7 separate regions of the Homo sapiens genome follow, and regions 1, 2, 4, 5, 6 and 7 are each linked to region 3. Evidence: promoter capture Hi-C in human tissues and cell types (Jung and others, 2019). All regions are on one chromosome and are shown on one strand. Each heading gives the region's core, a stretch centred on a gene start or on the middle of the fragment in contact. The rest is flanking DNA. Distances are from core to core; before and after follow the strand shown.

Region 1 (2,700 bases), core at 42-2,541, 480 kb before region 3:
CCTCCTGGGTTCAAATGATTCTCCTGCTTCACCCTCCTGAGTAGCTGGGATTACAGGCATGCACCACCATGCCCAACTAATTTTTGTATTTTTTAGTAGAGACAGGGTTTCAACATGTTGGCCAGGCTGGTCTCGAACTCCTGACCTCAGGTGATCCACCCCCCCCTTGGCCTCCCAAAGTCCCAAAGTGCTGGGATTACAGGCGTGAGCCACCACGCCTGGCTGGTATATTTATTAATCAAATACTACACAGCAATAACAGTGAACTAACTGTGGCTACAAGCAATAATGTGGATAAATTTTACAGGCATAATTTGAGGAAAAAGAAATGAGATATGATAGAGAATATGCTATATGGTTCTATTTACATAAGGCTCAACCACAGGCACAATTCATATACAAGTGATACAGCAGTTTACTTTCTGGGGGAGGGAGGAGATAACTGGAGGAGGCTGAGCTGGGGGCAGAGGTGCATCTGAGGTTCTGAGAATGTTCCAGAGCAGGCTATCTCCACCTTGGCACTAGTGAAATTTTGTTGGGGAGACTGTCCTGGGCACTGTGACATTCCCGGCCTCTACCCACTAGTGCCGGTACCACGATGTCCACCCCACCCACCACCACCCCCGCCTCATTTTGGAAACAAAAATGTCTCCAGACATTTCCAAATGTCCCCTTGGGTGGAGGAGGTACAAAATTCCCCTGGTTGCCCTGTTTGATTTTGGGTCGTGGGGGAATTAGGGGTGTGGGCTCATTTATGGAAATTCCTTGAGCTATACACATATGATTCATCAACTTTTCTGTACACATATAAAGCTTTTAAAGTTTTTAAAATAAAAAAACAAGTCAATGAATGACTGAAAGAACCAGTAAGTTTTCCAGCAATCCGAGACAATAGATAGAGTGGGGTTTAATGTCTTGTTCACAGACAAGGAGACTGGGATCCAGGGTGGGTCAGGGCAGGGGGCCAGCAGGATCCAGGAGGGAACTCATTCCCTGACTTCTCCTCCGCTTCCTTCCCCCATGCTCTCACGCATTCTTGCTCCCGAATACTAGCCAAGTCCCTACAGAGGCTGATCCCGTGCAGGGGCTCGGTTGGACCTTTAGCCTCAAACTCCCGTGGTGGAAACAGTTAGGATTGGTGGACGCTGCACCCAGCATCCTGCAAACAGAATTCTGAAAACTGATATCTCATGCAAACAGGATATCAACTTTTGTCAGAAAGATCAAAAAGAGCTTGAGGTTTTTCTTCACAGCCTCAGCCTTGCCTCTCCCCCTCTTGCTTTATCTCCTCATTTCTGTGTGCAGGCGAGCTTCTTGGCCTAAGGGCAGGAAGAGATGGCAGCGGGGGAGACGCAGCTCTACGCCAAGGTCTCCAACAAGCTCAAGAGCCGCAGCAGCCCCTCGCTCCTGGAGCCCCTCCTGGCCATGGGCTTCCCGGTGCACACCGCGTGAGTACTGCCCAGAGACCCCGGGGCCCAGCCAGTAAGGCTGGTGCCAGACCCTGCTGCGGCCCCCGGCATGGAGCTGCAGGGGTGTAGGGTACGGCTTCCTGCCAAAGCAGTGCACCTTGCAGGGTAAGACACTGCCTCTTCACAGGGCCCTCTTCTGCTTCTCGTAAATGAGGTGATCTTGACCAAGCTTGTCCAACCCACATGAGGCCCAGGACAGCTTTGGGCTTAAGCCATCATCCCACCTCAGCCTCCTAAGGCTGCCCTGTTCAATTTGTGTTGGCTGCCCAACACAAATTGGTAAACTTTCTTAAAATATTATGAGATTTTTTTTTTAGCTCATTAGCTATTATTAGTGTTAGCGTATTTTATGTGTGGCCCAGGGAGGCACAAGAATACCCCTGATATTCTTGACCTTTTAAAGACCAGCTCGGCTGGCTGACTGGGGGACCCTGAAATTTGTGAAAATCAGAAGCCATGTATTACTCTGGGTGCCCCATTTTGGGGGTTTGGAGGAGATTGGGGCCTGGTTGTAATCTCTTTGTGTGCAGCTCAGTGACTCTGAAAGTGGCGTTTCAAGATATTCAAACTCTAACGTGAAAGGCCCCAAAGCCCGCTGAGTCTCTAACACTGGGACCAACTGTCAGCAGGGCTGTGCTTCCACGCTGCCCGGGGAAAGTCACTTGTCCTCAGAGACAATCCCTTGAGTGTCTGATAACGAAACAAATGGGTAGGAAACTTCAGACACAGTGTGAGCGCGACCCTGCTTACCCAAGGGAAAGGCCTGCATGTGGAAGAGCTTAGCCTTCAGAGTTACCACTCTCGGAGAGGGAGGCCACGACACCAACATTGGGTTACAGCTTTCATGGCAAACCAGTGCCTTAAATCTGACCCATTCATTTTTTCACATGGAAAAATGTATCAGAAACACACTTTAAATCTGACCCATTCATTTTTTCACATGGAAAAATGTATCAGAAACACACTTTAGGTAACTTTGGGTTGGGGAAGGAGCTAAACTTTCCTTCCACACTATAACAAAAGCTTGGCCAAATTGGGTGAAGTAACTCTGAAGCTAGACAAACCCATTTCTTCTCCCCAAATCAGGGCTTTGTCGTCACTGTTATGTTCAAGCTAAGCCAGGGGCCTTTGAATGGGGAGTGGGGTCAGGCATGTGCAGGGCGGCCACCGGGCACCGTCCAGGCATTACAGACAAGGCAGCTTTTGTCCACTGCTCACCACCCAGTGCAGG
Region 2 (2,700 bases), core at 152-2,651, 460 kb before region 3:
AGACTAGCATTTGATGGGATAGCTAGGAAGGCTGTGTGTGATGCTTAGGATGGCTACTGCCTCCCTTCCATCCTCCAGCTCTCATGAGAATGCCTCTTGTAGCCCACCCTGATCAGACATGTGCTAAAAAGGAAGTCTAGGAACTGTCGTTCAGTCTGGCCAAGTTGCCACACCATAAAGCCATTGCAAAGTGTTAAGGTGGCTCTTGTGAGCTTTTTCACTCTCTTCTCCCAGGTTCCAGTTAGGAGAGTGGAGAGAGCAGGCAGAGGTCAGAGTACACATGGTGAAAAAAGAGAAAAGCTGCTCAGCCTCATGGGTGTGCCTGTTGGGGTGGAGCTCTTGCAGGTGTCAAGACTGATGGTTGGAACAACTGAATGATGAGAGTGGGAGGAGAAGGGCAGAAATACACAGAAAAACCCTATGTTGTGGTTCTGGGCTTCCTGGCACCTTCAGAGCTGTGTGGCTGGGGAAGAGAGCCTGGAAAAACACCATCGTGGCCATCCCTCTGTCTCCAGGCAGGAGGTCTTAAAACCATTTTATATTTCACTCATTTGTTTAATTCTCTCCTAAAATGCTCCACAGCTTCTCTAGGGTTCCCCTCACCACCCTGACAAATAAATAAATCATTAAGTTGAACACAGATGTATCAGCATCTACTCAATCTATAGATTTTCAGATCTGTGCTGGACATTTGCTGTGGACTTCTATTTCCAGCATCTATACATCCAGGGAATTATTTTCTGTACCCTTCCTAATGAGATTCATGCACATGGCAAAACTATGAAAATTGTGACGTTTTATTTGAGTAGTCATTAAAAGCTGCTTAAAAATTGTCAGAGGCTATATGGATAAGCCTCTGTGTGGATAAGACTAGCATTTTAAGTAAATTAAGAAAGAACGTATTTTGAAGAGCTGAAATAAATGATTGCATATTGGTCATTTTTATCCAAACCCCCAAAAAAGAAAAGAAAAGATGGTTTAATAGTACCTGATAGAAGCTCTTGGTGAAATGATTAGAATTTGCAAGAAATAGTAGTAAAAATAATGGAAGTATTGTCTGAAATATTTATAAAAGGAGATTTGGTGACTATGGCTGATTTCTTTAAGTATTATATTTCTTTTTGCTAATTATTCATACACTGAGATTTGTATAACAAGCCAGGGACAGTACCTATGTCCCTGGGCTCCCCCACTAAACATAATAGCCACTTGACATTCAAGGAGAGCAGATTCCAGCCAAAGCCCCACAGCTGTGCATACATGACATTCCATATCATCTTCTCTTGAGGCCATTTAACTTCTTACCCTAATGAATAAGAACTTAGGACCACAAAATGCAAATGTGGGATGAAAAATGCAGCCGTAGTCACACGTCTTTATTTATTGATGTGTTGACTCCTAATCCACTTAAATCTATTTTAAGGCAGCTTAAGAGATGTCCAATAGCTTTGCACACTAACATCACCCCCTGTGCCTGGCTCTGTGCCATGCATTTCCCTTACTAACTGATTTACTTCTCCAATACCCCCTGGATAGGCACTTTTATTGATCCATTTTATAGTTGATGAAACTGAGACACAAAGAGATCAACTCACTTGCCTGTGTTCACACAGCAAGTGAGCAGAGGAAGCCGGATTCCAGTCTTATACCTAATCCCACGCTTGGGCTTTCAACTATGACCTCAACTGCCTATAGAAGAGATCATTAAAATTTAAAAATAAGTCCATAAATTAAATTATGACACATCCATACAATAAAATATTTGCAGCTTTAAAATAATTAAAAGGGAGAATTTTATATATTGATTTGAAAAAATATGCAAGATTTATTGATAAATGAAAAAAATAAGTTGCAGAACGATGTGTATGGCATGATATACTTGTGGGGGAAGGGGAGAGAAACACATAACTGTCTGTAAATACATGTGCACAATATGTATTTCTATACATGTGTATGCCTAAAGGTTCCCTGGAAGGGAGAGTGTCTAGAAACTTCTAACCATGGTTACCGGTGGGTGTTGGGAGTGGGAGCCAGGAGAATGGAACAGAAATGGGAGGGAGTCTTTTCAAACACGACCATTTCATAATGTTTAAATGTATGAAGCATATAAATGCATTACTTACTCAAAACATAAATTAATCCATTTTAAATTTCAAGAAGAGAATGTAAGAAAGCTGGGTCAAAGGGAGAGTAAAGGTGGAAAAGCTAGACAAAGCCAGGGCTGAGGTTTGTCCATACCATGGCGTGCGCTGTGAGCTCCCAGCTCCGAGCTTTCCCACATCCAGTGAGAAAACAGACACACATTCAACCAACAGTCATGGCCATCCCAGATGCGTGCAGACCAGCGGTTCAGGAGAAACACAATTTGCTGACATAGACATGTCCGTGGGTCCAGGGGCCACATCAAAATCACAGGATGTGGGTGCCACAAGGGATTGTAGAGATAACCGAAGGCAGCTCCCCTGCTTGAGAGGTGAGAAGACTCGGGCCCAGGAGGCCAGGTGACGTTGTACAATCAAGGAAGCTCTTGCTTTCTTGCAAGCTCAGTTCACCACCTGATCCAATCAACAGTTTAAGGAATAGAGAGGAGATGCTGGCTATGCCCTAACTAACCATCTCAATTTCAGGAGGGTTGGGGCTCCCCTGTGGCCCCGCATCATTTAGCATGTCCTTCGCTCTCTGCCCGGGATGGGAGAGTTT
Region 3 (2,700 bases), core at 4-2,503:
AAGCGAGTGCACCAAAAAACTTTCCATATGGAACCGTGGACTTGTCTTCCAAGTCAGAAACTCCACCAGCCACTAGAATTTCCTCAAAATGCAAAGACTGAAGGTAAGCAAATCATGTCTAATATATCCACAGCTCACTCTGGCAGATATTAGACCGTGAGTCTCTAAAACAAAATCATCTGGGATATGTGACGGGTTTCTGAGTACAATTTTTGTGAGACCTAACTTAACATCGAATTGGCTTTCTAAAACCAAACGAACAAAAAATATACAGTATATCTGACAGACACGTCGTCCGTTTCAAATATGAAATCACAAATAACCTGGGAAAGGAAACGAGGGGCTGAAACTGACAGCACTACTAATTGCTCCGAGAGTCCTGAGTTAGGACTGTTCCATCAACAAACATTTACTAAGTTAAAAATCCCCTGCGTCGTCCTAGCACTGGCGATACACTAAGGAAGGAGAATAAAATTACGGAAAGCAAAACCCGAGCCGTGCGAAGGGCCACTAGGGAGGTGCGCACTGCGAGCTCCACGTGCACCCTTGGGTTGGGTAAGTGTCGGAGATGACTTGGAGCCCTAAGGAGCAATTAAGGCCAGGTGAGTGGATGCAGGCCGGGAAGAGGGAACAGACAACCCTGCAAAAAGAGGGAGCGCGCTTGGAGGTCAGTGAGCTCGCAGTGAGTAAGCCCCTCCCTTCTCACCAGGGAGACCCGAGACCCGCTTCTTCCCAGTTCTGCAGAGCGTGTTCGGCCGGGCCTTGCTGACTGGTCAGCGTCGCCCCACGTGCTCTACCTACCCGGTCCCCGCCGGCGCCGCGGAGACCGGAAGCGACCCGGCGGCGCTAACCGGGCAAGAACACCGCAGACCAGCCATCTAGTGCAAGGAGCGCGCCGGAGCCGGGGAGCGGACGCCGAGAGCGGACGGCGAAAGCGGACCCTCCAGGCGCAGAGACGCGGCCAGGCCGAGACTGCGGCGGAGGACTCGTGGGCTGGAGCGGAGTTCCCCGGGGTCACCCCAGAGTGGGTGCGACCAGGCGGTGCGGGAGAAGCGGGGTCGCCAGGACCCGACGCGCGCCCGCAGCCTGGTCTCCCTGTTCCAAGACCAAGGCCCCCTCACCTGCTTGCTATGGAGGTGGCCAGGAATCGGCTGCCGCCCCGCACCACCAACGTCTGCCCGCACAACGCCAGTCCCACAGAGCCCGCCATGTACCCGCCCGCCTCACCGCCATACACATGTGCCAGCCCAGAGCCTCTTCCTGTCCGCACCGGTCGGTGACGCCAGGCGCAGACGCCGAGAGATGACGTATACCCCACGTACCGCGCATGCTCAAGGACGAGCCTGCCTTGAGCATGCGTGAAAGGTGCTGTGACCGCCCTCCGGGTTGTGGCTGGTGGCCTTCGGTGTTTCGGGTTTGGCAGTTCACTCACCAAGGTGATCTGATGGAGTGCACTTCGCACGATTCCAAGTACTTGCCTAATGTTCATCCTTTCCTCTAGACGGGGTAGGGCTGGTTCTGGATCTTTTTCCGCGGTAGCTGGAGAGACGTAGGACCTGATGATGGCTACTAGATGCCTGGTAAATGATCCTTCAAGAAGTGAATGAACCGGGGGCCGTGGCTCACATGAAGTCAGCAGTTCGAGAGCAGCCTGACCAATATGGTGAAACCCCGTTTCTACTAAAAGTACAAAAATTTGTTGGGCGTGGTGGCGTGCGACTGTAGCCCCAACTACTTGGGAGGCTGAGACAGAAGAATTGCCTGAACCCGGGAGGCGGAGGTTGCAGTGAGTCGAGATCGCCCCCGCTGCACTCCAGCCAGGGCGACAGAGCGAGACTCTCTCTCAAAAAAAAAAAAAATGTCCAAGATGTGGTCATGGGTGAGGGTGTCTCGGGTGGCGTCAAGTCTGAGGTCGCTAGAAGTAAGCCTACTGAATCTTTGCACTTAGACAAGCCACAGATGCCTTAAAATCTCCGAACTGTAGTGATATTTTCAACCCAAACTATGGTTAGTTTCCAGTGTTCATCCCAAGATCCCCAAAAGCCTCTTACAATCCCAGCATCAGGCACAAAATCTAGGATCTCACGGTCTGTTTTAGATTGGCTTGTCCGGTGCAGCTCCTCTTGATCCAGAGACTTACAAACTAAAAAGATTAATTTTCTCTCCCGTGCACGCAATATATGATGGTGAGCCGGGACCAGATAACCACAATAAATACTTGCATGTGAAAATGAGAAGAGGAGGAGACACAGTAATCACTGGTCCAAAGCAATTCTGAAATCCTACTGGAAGATGTTTTCAGGCCCTACAAGAATAAGAAGTCTTAACCAGGCCCGAGTTCTGCTTCCTGGGAGTATCTCCCCAGGCTGTATCTCAGCACAGCTCTTGCCTCTGCCCTCTTGGGTGTCCCTCCTTTTCCAGCACCTTCTTGGCCATGTTGAAGAATGTGCCCTTTGAGAAACTTTCTCAACCTCCTTCCTGTCATTAGCAAATTGTGAGCCCACAGACCTTTTTTCACTCTAAACTGTTCTGTCCACATTTTGGCAGCTGGTGGTGCTTTGTTCACTACAAGTCCCTTAAAAGCTTTATGGGCTTCTCAAGAATCTGATTCAGGTGCTCTCCATGCCCAAGAAGCCACTCCCACTAGTCTTTTTTTTTTTTTTAGACGGAGTCTCGCTCTGTCGCCCAGGCTGAAGTGCA
Region 4 (2,700 bases), core at 3-2,502, 390 kb before region 3:
AGGCCAGCAGGGAATAGGGATGCTCTTTCTCCCCCTTAACCTCAGAGTCCTCAGTTGGCCCTACACCCCCAACCCTCAGCATCAGTACATGGGGTCTAGGCCTCCCCCACATCTGGCACCCACCCTCCCCTCCATCTCATCCCCCACTACCCCTAAAAACCTCGGCCTTCCTGCCTGTATCCAAGTCACCCGCCACCCAGGACCGTCTCCCCACTCCTCTCCTGCAGCACTATAGCCTCTGCTGGCTCCTGGACTCCCTAATTGGACTTGTGTGACCATCTGGGAGACAGGTAGGGTACTGGACTTTATGCCACAGGGTCCTGACGTTGAACACACTGCCCTGCACAAAACCATTCTGGCCCATTGTGATGGCAGCCAGCCAAGATACACTGTTATGAATAACTCAGCCATACATTAACTGAGATTTTGTGATTGGAAGAGTATTGGCTTACTATGTTATAATTAATATTATAACTTCTGACCTCAGTTTCCATTGCTGCCTTCATGAAGTAAGACACTTATTTAAGCTTTTGTCAGAGAAGAAATCTCTGGGTAGTGGCTAAATCTTGCACCCTTTAAGATACAAAGCCATCTGGAGAATCAAAAATCCCAACTGTTACCAGAAGAGCTTTATATGTTAGTGTGGCATAATAAGAAATATTGGTCTTTATTCATGGTTCCCAGCACAGAGCTCCTAAAACCCTTGACATTTCCTGACTGATAGAAATGTTTTTGTTATTCAAAATGAGACTCTTTTGACCACACCTGAACTTATGCAAATGAGGCCCAGGATGGCCTCAAGATGGGACTGAACACCAGAAAGACCAAGTGATAAGAAGGATAGAACCTCCAGCCCCACCCACCAACTTTTGGTAAAGAAGAAGGAAGGGGCCAGAGATTAAGCTCTGTAAAAACTCTTGAGCAAGATTTGTTGAGCTTCTGGGGTGATAAACATATCATGTGCCAGGAGGGTGGTGCACTCCACCTCCACAAGGACAGAAGCTCCTGTGCTTGGGAACCTTCCAGGCCTTGCCCTCTGTACCTCTGAATCTGGCTGTTCATCCATATTCTTTATAATATCCTTTACAGTAAACATGAGTAAAGTGCTTTCCTGAGTCCTATGAGCCGCTATGGCACATTATCAAACCTGAGTAGGGTGTTGTAGGAACCCCCAATTTGTAGCCGAGTCAGGTAGAACTGTGGGTACCCTCCGGATCCACAACTTGAGGTTGACATCTGAAGTGGGGCAGTCTTGGAAACTGAGCCCTTAACCTGTGGGGTCTGTGCTAACTCTGGGTGGTGTCAGAATGGAGTTGCATCATTGGAAACTCAGTTGGTGTTCACAGAAGACTGGAGAAGTACATAGCATGGAAAATCCATGCATTTGGTGTCAGAGAAACAGTTACCCATTTTTAACCTTCATATTCAAAATTCCTTAAATCCCTTATCCTAAATATCTTCGTGTGTGTGTGTGTTGTTCAAATTGTATCAACATCTACACTAAAATCAAAAGTGACAAGAATGAGATTAGGTGCATAAGGATTTGGAAAGAATTAAATTAAGCCCCAAATTAAATTGTTTAAAGTTGATTTAAAAAGCAGATGGTGCTTCTTATAGAGCAAGCCTTCTGGGATTTATGAAACAAAACAAAACAATTTCTATCTAACAGGGATGGTATTAAAACCCTCCATCTTGGTCTCAGAATTGGACAGAATCATCACTGACATCTATTAAAATAAGAACCACCTACTGGTTCTTATTTTATCTAGGAGCAAAGCAAGCAACTATAGCTCGCACTTTGTAAGAATATGTCCTCCTCACTAAGAAGTGATGCTGTCACAAGTGGTACATCACAGTCCTAGCCCCAGTTACTGAGTGCTCACTATGGATCAGGCAAGGTTGCAGGTGTCTCCCTGTGTTTATCCATTGAATCTTCATGCTACAGATGAGAAACTGAGGCAAGGAGATGTGAAGTCACCTATGCAAGCTCACACCTATTGTCACCAGAGTCCAAGGTTAGGGTCACAGATCTTTTTGGAAATCTGAAGAAAACTAGACAATTTCTTTCTTCCTAGGGAAAAAACAAAAAGCCCAGAACACAGAATTTTATATACACTTTCTGAAGACTCACAACACGCTCCCTGCCGGTCCCCCTGCCCAGGTTTGGGATATCACTAATGTGGTCACACCAGGTGACAACGGCACAAGGGGCGGCAGGGAGGTTCTTGGAAATAAAGGAAAAAGAATCCTCCTCAAACATAACATTGGCCTGTAAGGACTTATGGCACAGGTAGGAAAAGTCAGTTTAACAAGGCAGGAAGACTCCCAGACAGGAAGCCCTGATGTAAGGAAACACTCGATCTGAAGAAATAACACATCCGTCAGATGGCGGGGTTGGTCAGAAATGGAAAATGCAAAGACAGGTTCAGGAAGATGAATGCCGCAGAGCAGCTGAAGCCGTGGGTCCACCAGCTGCGAGGCCTGCGTCCACTCAGGAGCCTCCCTTTTGTCTGCTCCCAGGACATGGACATGCTGGCCACAGGGACAGATTTCCCACTACAGATTCATTAGTGAGTTAATTAATTACAAGGCTTTCCTATTTCTGCATCAACACTGTGAATATAGTAACACGATCTGTGTTCGTTGAATGAGTAACTGGAGAACTTTAAGCTTTCTCATACATGTCAGTATTCACAGACA
Region 5 (2,700 bases), core at 27-2,526, 430 kb before region 3:
ACACACATGCACACGCACATGCACACACACGCAGGTACACAAGCATGCAAACACACATACACATACAAACGCGTGCATGCATACATGCACACATGAGCACACAAACACATGCACACACTTGCACACATGCACACAAAGGCATACACATGCAATGCACACACACAAACACACATGCACACACAGGCACACACACGCTCACATGCACACACACACACGCTGACTCTCCTACGGTTCTGGAGGTTGGCATTTTCTCAGCAGGCTATGTTTCTTCTGGAGCCTCCAGGGGAGGATCCTTGCCTTTTCTCACTTTTAGAGGCCACCTGCATCCTCCCTCCTCAAGTACAGCGGCGTAGCAGCCTCCAAGCTCTCTCAGTCTCTGCCTTCACAGCCACATCGCCTTCTGCTTCTGACTCTCCTGCCTCCCTCCTACAAGGGCCCTTGTGTTGACACTGGGCCCACCCAATAACCCAGGATCAATTCTCATCTCAAGAGCCTTAACCACACATGCAAAGTCCCTTTTGCCACATAAAGTTGCATATTCCCAGGTCCCGGGGATTAGGACATGAACATCTTTGGGGGTTATCCTGTAGCCTGCCATAACATACCCCAATCCTTCCAAGCACAGCGGAGCTGCCCGTACAGGGCCTCGGACATAGGGATTTGAGACACTCCCCTTGCAGGCCTTTTTTGGCTTCTCCTATTCTTGTTTCTGATCACGTAGAGGAGAGAAGAGGACTTTGCCAGTGGGAGAAGTAGGCTCCCCCGATTTAATGGGGCCCCAAAAGAAGGGCCACGAGCAAAGTGGAGTCTGTCCATGATGGTGATGCTGAGGAAGCTGGTCCAGCAGGGGATGGGGTCTCCCCAGTGGGGAGTCTCATGCCCCAGCCCACAGGTCACACCTGCTCCCACAGCCCACACATGTGGTGCCTCATGCTGCAGGCAGAGATCCCAGCACGGTGTAGTGACAGTCCATCGGTCTTTCATCTCTTCTAGCCCCCTGATCCAGTGCAGGTGTTATTTCATGATTGCAGTTTGGGGCTGTGGTGGTGGCTCTGTGAGTGCCTTTTATAGTGTGAATGCAGAGACAGGGCAGGAAGGACCCATGCTGCACCCTCAGCCTCCCCTGTGAGCACCCAGGCAAGTGGAGGGCAGAACACAAAGGGAGCTCTTGTAGAAATAAAGATGGTGAACACCCCGGGCTGTGACAAAAACGGCCCACATTGTGTAGAATGCACAGGAGGCCAGACCCAATAAAAGTTTCCTTGCTGTTTTAGTCAATCAAACACGACCTCCTGAGAAAAAGACGCATCTGTCTGTCCCTTGTTTTATTTCACTAATGATGTAGTTTTTCTGTGTCCAAACATAAAGAAGTTTGAAGTTGACACAGCCACAGAGAGCAGAGCATGCACCCCACTCACAGGCCTGCTTCGAGTCCAGGCCATACCGAAATGACGTCTTCAGGGAGATTGTTCTAGACGCATCCCAGCAGATACCGACTAGAGAAGAGATGGATTCACTGGGATGTAGGTGGCTGGGCAGTACGTCCTGCAACAAATACACCCCACCGCTGGGCACCTGGGTGGTTGTTCTTTCTCCTCGGCAAGTGTGTGGTTGGGTCCAAGTCCCTCCTGGATACCACAGTGCCACGCTCGCTAATCATGATGATGAATTAAAGTGCTGCAAGTCAAGGTATGGCATTGAAATCACAGTCACGTGTTCAGGTGGTCTGTAATGAATCTCTGGATTCACCTTCTCAGGGGTGAAGCTTCCAGGTCCTCCACCCTGGGCAAAGCCAGACACAGGTAATTCCCCTCTCATCCTGCTGGGCTGCTCACAGGTTTTGCAAGGAGAATGAGATGGGTTTGAAACTCAGATCTCCAGATCTCCAGATCTAGTGTGCAAGAAATAGCATTTTCTCGATATTCTATGCTTCTGGTTCTGTCAGACCCTCATTCCACCCCCAAGGCAGAGGACCCCAGTTCAGTGGTTCTGTTCCTCCAGAAGGAACCATTCGCTGTATGGACTGAGCCTTGCGGACAGAGCTGGGCTGGAAAAGGGCAGAGACGGAAATGCCTGGTGGGATTATCATGATTGGGTGTAAACTGTCTACTCTATGAACCAATAGGAAATCCCAAAAAAAGAAAACAAAAGACACTCTTTTTTCCTTCCTCTCCCTGGGTGGGTCGCTTTGGTGTTTGTGAGCCAAGTCTGACCCCTGCTGACACCGTCTGGAAGTGGACGTCCTGTCACCAACGCCATCCCAACCCATGCCCCACCCACATTCTCTTGTTGACTTCCTCACTGTGTGCTTGAAAAAAAAAACAAGCCTGGGCCAGGCATGGTGACTCATGCCTGTAATCCTGGCACTTTGGGAGGCCAAGGCGGGCAGATCACGAGGCCAGGAGATCGACACCACCCTGGCCAACATGGTGAAACCCCGTCTCTACTACAATACAAAAACGTAGCCAGGCGTGGTGGCGCATACCTGTAGTTCCAGCTACTCAGGAGGCTGAGGCAGGGGAATCGCTTGAACCAGGGAGGCGGAGGTTGGAGCAAGCCGAGATCGCGCCACTGCACTCCAGCCTGGCGACAGAGCAAGACTCCGTCTCAAAAAAAAAAAAAAAGAAAAAGAAAAAAACAAGCCTGAAAGGGAATTCTACCAGCGTTCCCTGAGGCTGAGCGGATGACAATGTTGTTTTG
Region 6 (2,700 bases), core at 183-2,682, 350 kb before region 3:
TGTGGGGTTTCAGGATTGACCTAGAAAGGTTGGGTGTGGATTGTAGGGGAAGAAAAACAGCTTTACAGGTGGGAGAACTGCCTTGAGTGCTACGTGCAGGGATGGGCATCTCCATGAAGGCACCACCTGTTGGGCTGGGGGGCTGTTGGGGCAGATGTAGCGTGTAAGGTGGGCTGGCCTTTGGGGGAATCTTTGTCAGGCCACAGCTGTTGGGGTCCACCTGATGACTATGAGGGCCCCTGTGAGCCAGGAGCAAGTGGGAGCCCTGTCCCGGTCCCTCTCCCGGCTTTCCTGGTGGTCCATCTCAAAGCCCCCGCCCCTGACTCTCGTGTGTAGTGGTGTCCAGGCCACTCAAGACTTAGGGCTTCTGAGGAGGCGGCGTCAGGGTCAGCTCTTAGTTCAGTGTCATAAGTAACAATATAAATAACTGCCGCTTACAGAGCCCTGGGGTATGACAAACTGCCACATACATTACCCCTGTGATCCTCACAGCAACCCTGCGAGTGCCCCTGTGAGGAAATTGAGGCTCGGGTCTTCGTTCCCCAGGCAGGGCTGCCACACACTCGAGAATTCCCTGTGGGTCAGGCTGCCTCCAGGGCCCCTACTCATCCTCTCTGTGCCTCAGGGTTTGTCCGGGTTTAATTACCTGAGTACAGTCCCAGCATCACCCTCAGAGCCTCCTAAACGCACAGATTTCCTGACCTAGCAGCTGCGATGTGCCTGGGCATGGATTGGCTTGACGCTGAATCCTGTGGGTTTCTTTACCTTTCAAGATAGATCAGAACATCACACCACATCAAAACTAAACTTTATAGTGCCTTCTGAAGCGCCCGTGTGCTTGAGCTCATGATATAAATGGCATCAACGAAACTGAAAGTAGTAGTGATTCTGTTGACCCACAAAACAGTTGAGTGATTATTTATAGCCTGCATTTCCCAGAATATTGTAAGCAAAACCAAAGCAAAATGTATTTGCTTACTTGAAATTGAACCAGAGGCTGTGAATTAGAAAGTGAGTCTTATTCTGTTATGTCATTTATAGAATGACACGGCACACCAGGTCACATTTAAGTTAGTTAAATGGAATGTTTAGACTTACCTTTGATCACTGCTGATTAATTGTATTTTTCTCGATGATGATGATAAAACCAGGGCTGGGAGGATAGTGGTGTTATAAGTGCAACCCTGTCCCTTCTATCTGCTGCTCCAGCTGTGGCCTAGCCTCAGGACTCAAGGCAAGCGTCTGCCCAAGCTGGTAGACAGGTGAGTCTGACTCCCAGCAGAGATCTTAGTGCGAGCTCTTTTCACCTGGACTGGGCCAGAAAAGAAACCTGAAAGCAGAGGCTTCCCGGAGAAGCTTAAACTGCAGGGGTCCCTGGAGCCAGGGGGATGGCAGCATTGATTTGAATGTGAGTGTGCCCACCCCTCTCTGGACACACAGGACTTAAAAGGAGAAAACTGGCTAGGCGCAGTGGCTCACGCCTGTAATCCCAGCACTTTGGGAGGCCGAGGTGGGCGGATCACCTGAGGTCAGGAGTTCAAGACCAAACTGGCCAACATAGTGAAACCCTATCTATACTAAAAATACAAAAAAAATTAACCAGGCATGGTGACAGGCGCCTGTAATCCCAGCTACTGGGGAGGCTGAGGCAGGAGAATAGCTTGAATCCGGGAGGCGAAGTTTGCAGTGAGCCGAGAGCGCACCATTGCCCTCCAGCCTGGGCGACAAAGTGAAACTCCATCTAAAAAAAAATGAAATAAAATAATCCTCAGTGGCAGACAGAAAACAAAGTCTGAAAAGCTGGAAGTATGTACTATGGGTGGGAAACTTGTTATTTGGAAAGTTCCAATTCTCCCAGTGTTAATATTTAAATAAAATGCAACTCCAGTGAAAATCTTAGCAGGGTTTTTTTTAATTGAATAAAATAATCTTAAAGTTTGTATGAAAGAATGTCCAGGAATTATCAAGAAAAGTGTAAAGATAACATTTTATGATATGAAAATATGCAAAAGATTAACATATTTTAATACCATAATCAAATTATGATATTACATGAGAATAGACAAAAAAGTCAGTAGAATAGATTAGAAAATATGGAATATTTGACAGAGCTTATTTAATAAATTTAATAAATGGTGTCGGCACAACTGGTTATTCGTCAGGAAGAAATAAATGTTGAATCCCTATTTTATAAAAACAAATGGCCCGGGCACTGTGGCTCACACCTGTAATCCCAGCACTTTGGGAGGCCGAGGCAGGTGGATTACCTGAGGTCAGCAGTTCGAGACCAGCCTGACCATCTCTACTAAATGTACAAAAGTGAGCTGGGCATGGTGGCGGGCACCTGTAATCCCAGCTACTTGGGAGACTGACGCATGAGAATCGCTTGAACCTGGGAGGCGAATGTTGCAGTGAGCCGAGACCACACCACCGCACTCCAGCCTGGGTGACATGAGTGAGACTCCATCTCAAAAAAGTAAAATAAAATAAATGGATTAAAGACATGAATGTAAAATACAAAAAGTACAAATCCAAGAAGAAAATTATGTTTATCGTAGGAGTGAGTGTGAAGTTAGGAAACCCAAAGAAACAACGGGCAAGGGGGATGAACAAGCAGTTTACAGACACGGAATTCAGATCGCCAGGAAATATGTGAATGGTGTTCGAGTCTGCCGGTATTCCATATGCAAATTAAGGCAA
Region 7 (2,700 bases), core at 53-2,552, 370 kb before region 3:
CAGCCTCCCCCGTAGCTATGATTACAGGTGCCCGCCACCATGCCTGGCTAATTTTTGTATTTTTAGTAGAGACAGGGTTTCACCATGTTGGCCAAGCTGGTCTCGAATTCCTGACCTCAGGTGATCCACCTGCCTCAGCCTCCCAGAGTGCTGGGATTACAGGCATGAGCCACCGTGCCTGGCCTAAGAGTATGTCTTTTTGCAGACCCCATAAAAATTTTCCAACTTGCTTATCTCATGTATTTGCACTAGCTCAACTGCAAGAATGACTCCTTAGTTGATGGGTCAGTTTCCTATTTCCACATACCTGACCTCATTCTACCTATAGGCATAAACTCAAGAGGAATTTACAACAGATGGGCTCAGGCAACAAGTTAGCCCCAGAGTGGAGCTCAGCTACAGAGGAATGCTTCACTGAAAGAAATGTGAGTCCCTGAATCTGATTCAAGCCTTTATCAAGTCCTACTTCAGTTAGAATCCAGTTTACTCCCCAAATACCCGTGAGCACTCTCTCAGTTACTATTTCCCTTGCTACACATATAGAAGAAAAGCAAGAAAGTTACTCTGCTGGGAAACACTGCCAAGGGGTCTTAGAAGCAAGAAAATTTGCCTATTTTATACAGGTAGTTTAAAGAGAACCACCCTTATAAATGGGTGTTTGTCCCCTTATTATTTCAGGACACTTGAAAGCTCCTCTCCTCCAATATGTCTCTAATTCAAGTATCACAGTGTCTAAAATTCTACCACTAAAATGCCATTACCTAAATTAAGCACAGCCTTCTGTCTTTATGTTGATATTTCTTTAAATATCATGCCAATAGTTTTAAAATCAAATGATACTAAAGGTATATAACAACAAACAGTCGGGCCTGGCTTTATCCCTTCAACTCCTCTGTCTCATTCCCCTACCATTTTCTACTCTTTTACCCATTTCTTCTGGTAGTTCCCTATATTTCTAAATAATATGAGTAAACTATGATTTTTATGTCCAATTTTAAAGCTTTTCTATGGACCTCTGGTTTTAGAGACAACATCTAGTTCTCTTACATCCCTTGCCACTTCCCCTGATGCTGTAGGACAGACAGGTCTGTCCCACCCACGGTGACTCAGTCATTGTTGTTCATGGCCGCTGCCCGTTCTTCACGATCAAGGAGGAGAATTCTTTGGAGGAAACAGAGCTTTCATACGTGAATCGACTGGGAAGCGAGTCAAAAGTACTGCAACTGGAAGTGTGGCATGGGGAGGGGGCCGTGGCCAGTCTCCTCACTGGGCTCCTGTAGGACTGGGAACGCCTACTCCTTCACACCTAATTATGTTTGCTGGATTGGGTTATAGTTCTTCAGTGTGTGGACTCTTGTCAGTTTTATATCCGTAGGCCGAGCACAATGCCTGGAATACAGAGCATGCTTAATAATCAGAGGCTTTTCATTGTATTTCTTATCAACAACACTAGTAACTGAATATAAATCACCCTTCCTCGCCAGTCAGTGCACCATACCATTAGAATTCTTGCTTTTTGATCAGTGGAGATAAAATGAGTTTCTTTTCTCCATGTTAAGTAATCAGGTTCTGATTTTCCCTTTTCTTTCTCTCTAATAGTGTTTAATGCTCTAATGCTTTCTAAGCATGAGGTATTTTCTTGAGCTCTGAAGCCCAGTATCTTCAAAGCCCCCTTCAGGGAAACCTCAGTTCCCTGTCAGTCAAGGCCTGTCACTGGCTTTGCCTTGGCCTTCTCTGGGAGAATGTCTGCTCCTTAAGTTGATGGCATACAAGTTGAGGTGGGGAAAAATTAAAGTGTAGGATTTCTGTAGGCAGCTAATGTTTTATTACTGGAGTGCAGTGATGCGATCTCAGCTCACTGCAACCTCTGCCTCCTGGGTTCAAGCAATTCCCCTGCCTCAGCCTCCTGAGTAGCTGGGACTACAGGCACACACTACCACGCCCAGCTAATTTTTTGTATTTTAGTAGAGATGGGGTTTCACCATGTTGGCCAGGATAGTCTCGATCTCCTGACTGCATGATCTGCCCGTCTCAGCCTCCCAAAGTGCTGGGATTACAGGCGAGAGCCATAGCGCCTGGCCTAAAATGTATTATATAAGCATCATAGTGACCACAAAACAAAAACCTGCAGCAGATATACAAAATGTAAAGAGAAAGGAATCAAAGCATACCATTACAAAAATCATCACATTAGAAAGGAAGATAGTAAGGGAGTAACAAAGCAACAAAGGAACTACAAACCGCCAGAAAGCAATTTTTTAAATGGCAGTAGTAAGTCCTTATCAATAATTAATGTAAATGGATTAAATTCTGCAATCAAAAGATAGAAGTGGCTGAATGGATATTAAAAAAAAAAAATCTAGGTGCTGCCTGCAGGAGACTCAGCTTTAAGGATACACATAGGCTGAAAGTAAAGGCATGGGAAAAGATATTCCATGCAAATGGTTACCAAATAGAGAGCAAAAAAGATACTTATATCAGACAAAACAGACTTTAAGTCAAAAACTTCATAAGAGACAAAGTCACTATATCATGATAAAGAGATAAATTCATCAAGAGGATATAACAATTATAAATGTATATGCACCCAACATCAGAGTACCTAAATATATATTAACGGAACTCAAGAGAGAAATAGCAATACAGTAATAGCAGGGTACTTCAGTACCCCATTTTCAACAATGAATAGATGATCCAGAC

Evidence for each region. Contacts are between HindIII fragments. The study calls those that stand out against the background at their distance.
Region 1: a contact is called between the fragment with the promoter of UBASH3A here and the fragment with the promoter of WDR4 in region 3, in 1 of the 25 tissues and cell types used here (spleen).
Region 2: a fragment that was not itself captured here is called in contact with the fragment with the promoter of WDR4 in region 3 in 1 of the 25 tissues and cell types used here (spleen).
Region 4: a fragment that was not itself captured here is called in contact with the fragment with the promoter of WDR4 in region 3 in 1 of the 25 tissues and cell types used here (spleen).
Region 5: a contact is called between a fragment that was not itself captured here and the fragment with the promoter of WDR4 in region 3, in 1 of the 25 tissues and cell types used here (spleen).
Region 6: a contact is called between a fragment that was not itself captured here and the fragment with the promoter of WDR4 in region 3, in 1 of the 25 tissues and cell types used here (heart left ventricle).
Region 7: a fragment that was not itself captured here is called in contact with the fragment with the promoter of WDR4 in region 3 in 1 of the 25 tissues and cell types used here (spleen).

The regions. Positions count from the first base shown.
Region 1 is chr21:42,402,611-42,405,310 of GRCh38, forward strand. It overlaps UBASH3A (ubiquitin associated and SH3 domain containing A), which reads left to right and starts at 1,292. Exons shown (of 15, transcript NM_018961.4): 1 at 1,292-1,448. The coding sequence starts at 1,336. The HindIII fragment of the contact is 3,374 bases long and covers 1-2,065 here.
Region 2 is chr21:42,420,897-42,423,596 of GRCh38, forward strand. The region is part of intron 7 of UBASH3A (ubiquitin associated and SH3 domain containing A); the gene reads left to right. Among named protein-coding and RNA genes, the nearest start is that of UBASH3A, 18 kb to the left of the region's middle. RefSeq lists an enhancer at 2,281-2,550. The HindIII fragment of the contact is 5,669 bases long and covers 1-2,700 here.
Region 3 is chr21:42,878,286-42,880,985 of GRCh38, forward strand. WDR4 (WDR4 tRNA N7-guanosine methyltransferase non-catalytic subunit) reads right to left here and starts at 1,254. Exons shown (of 11, transcript NM_018669.6): 1 at 1,122-1,254. The coding sequence starts at 1,210. It overlaps LOC105372817 (a long non-coding RNA gene), which reads left to right and starts at 1,427. Exons shown (of 4, transcript XR_937765.3): 1 at 1,427-1,470. RefSeq lists enhancers at 1-279, 280-1,244, 897-946, 977-1,086, 1,157-1,506. The HindIII fragment of the contact is 11,595 bases long and covers 1-2,700 here.
Region 4 is chr21:42,489,994-42,492,693 of GRCh38, forward strand. All of the region lies in intron 3 of RSPH1 (radial spoke head component 1), which reads right to left. Among named protein-coding and RNA genes, the nearest start is that of RSPH1, 4.9 kb to the right of the region's middle. RefSeq lists an enhancer at 2,367-2,700. The HindIII fragment of the contact is 4,264 bases long and covers 1-2,700 here.
Region 5 is chr21:42,447,902-42,450,601 of GRCh38, forward strand. No RefSeq gene overlaps it. Among named protein-coding and RNA genes, the nearest start is that of UBASH3A, 45 kb to the left of the region's middle. The HindIII fragment of the contact is 3,611 bases long and covers 1-2,700 here.
Region 6 is chr21:42,527,085-42,529,784 of GRCh38, forward strand. All of the region lies in intron 3 of SLC37A1 (solute carrier family 37 member 1), which reads left to right. LOC107987299 (a long non-coding RNA gene) reads right to left here. Exons shown (of 2, transcript XR_007067878.1): 2 at 1-1,741. Among named protein-coding and RNA genes, the nearest start is that of SLC37A1, 15 kb to the left of the region's middle. The HindIII fragment of the contact is 7,112 bases long and covers 1-2,700 here.
Region 7 is chr21:42,508,245-42,510,944 of GRCh38, forward strand. It overlaps a transcript of SLC37A1 not described here. Among named protein-coding and RNA genes, the nearest start is that of SLC37A1, 4.3 kb to the right of the region's middle. The HindIII fragment of the contact is 5,149 bases long and covers 1-2,700 here.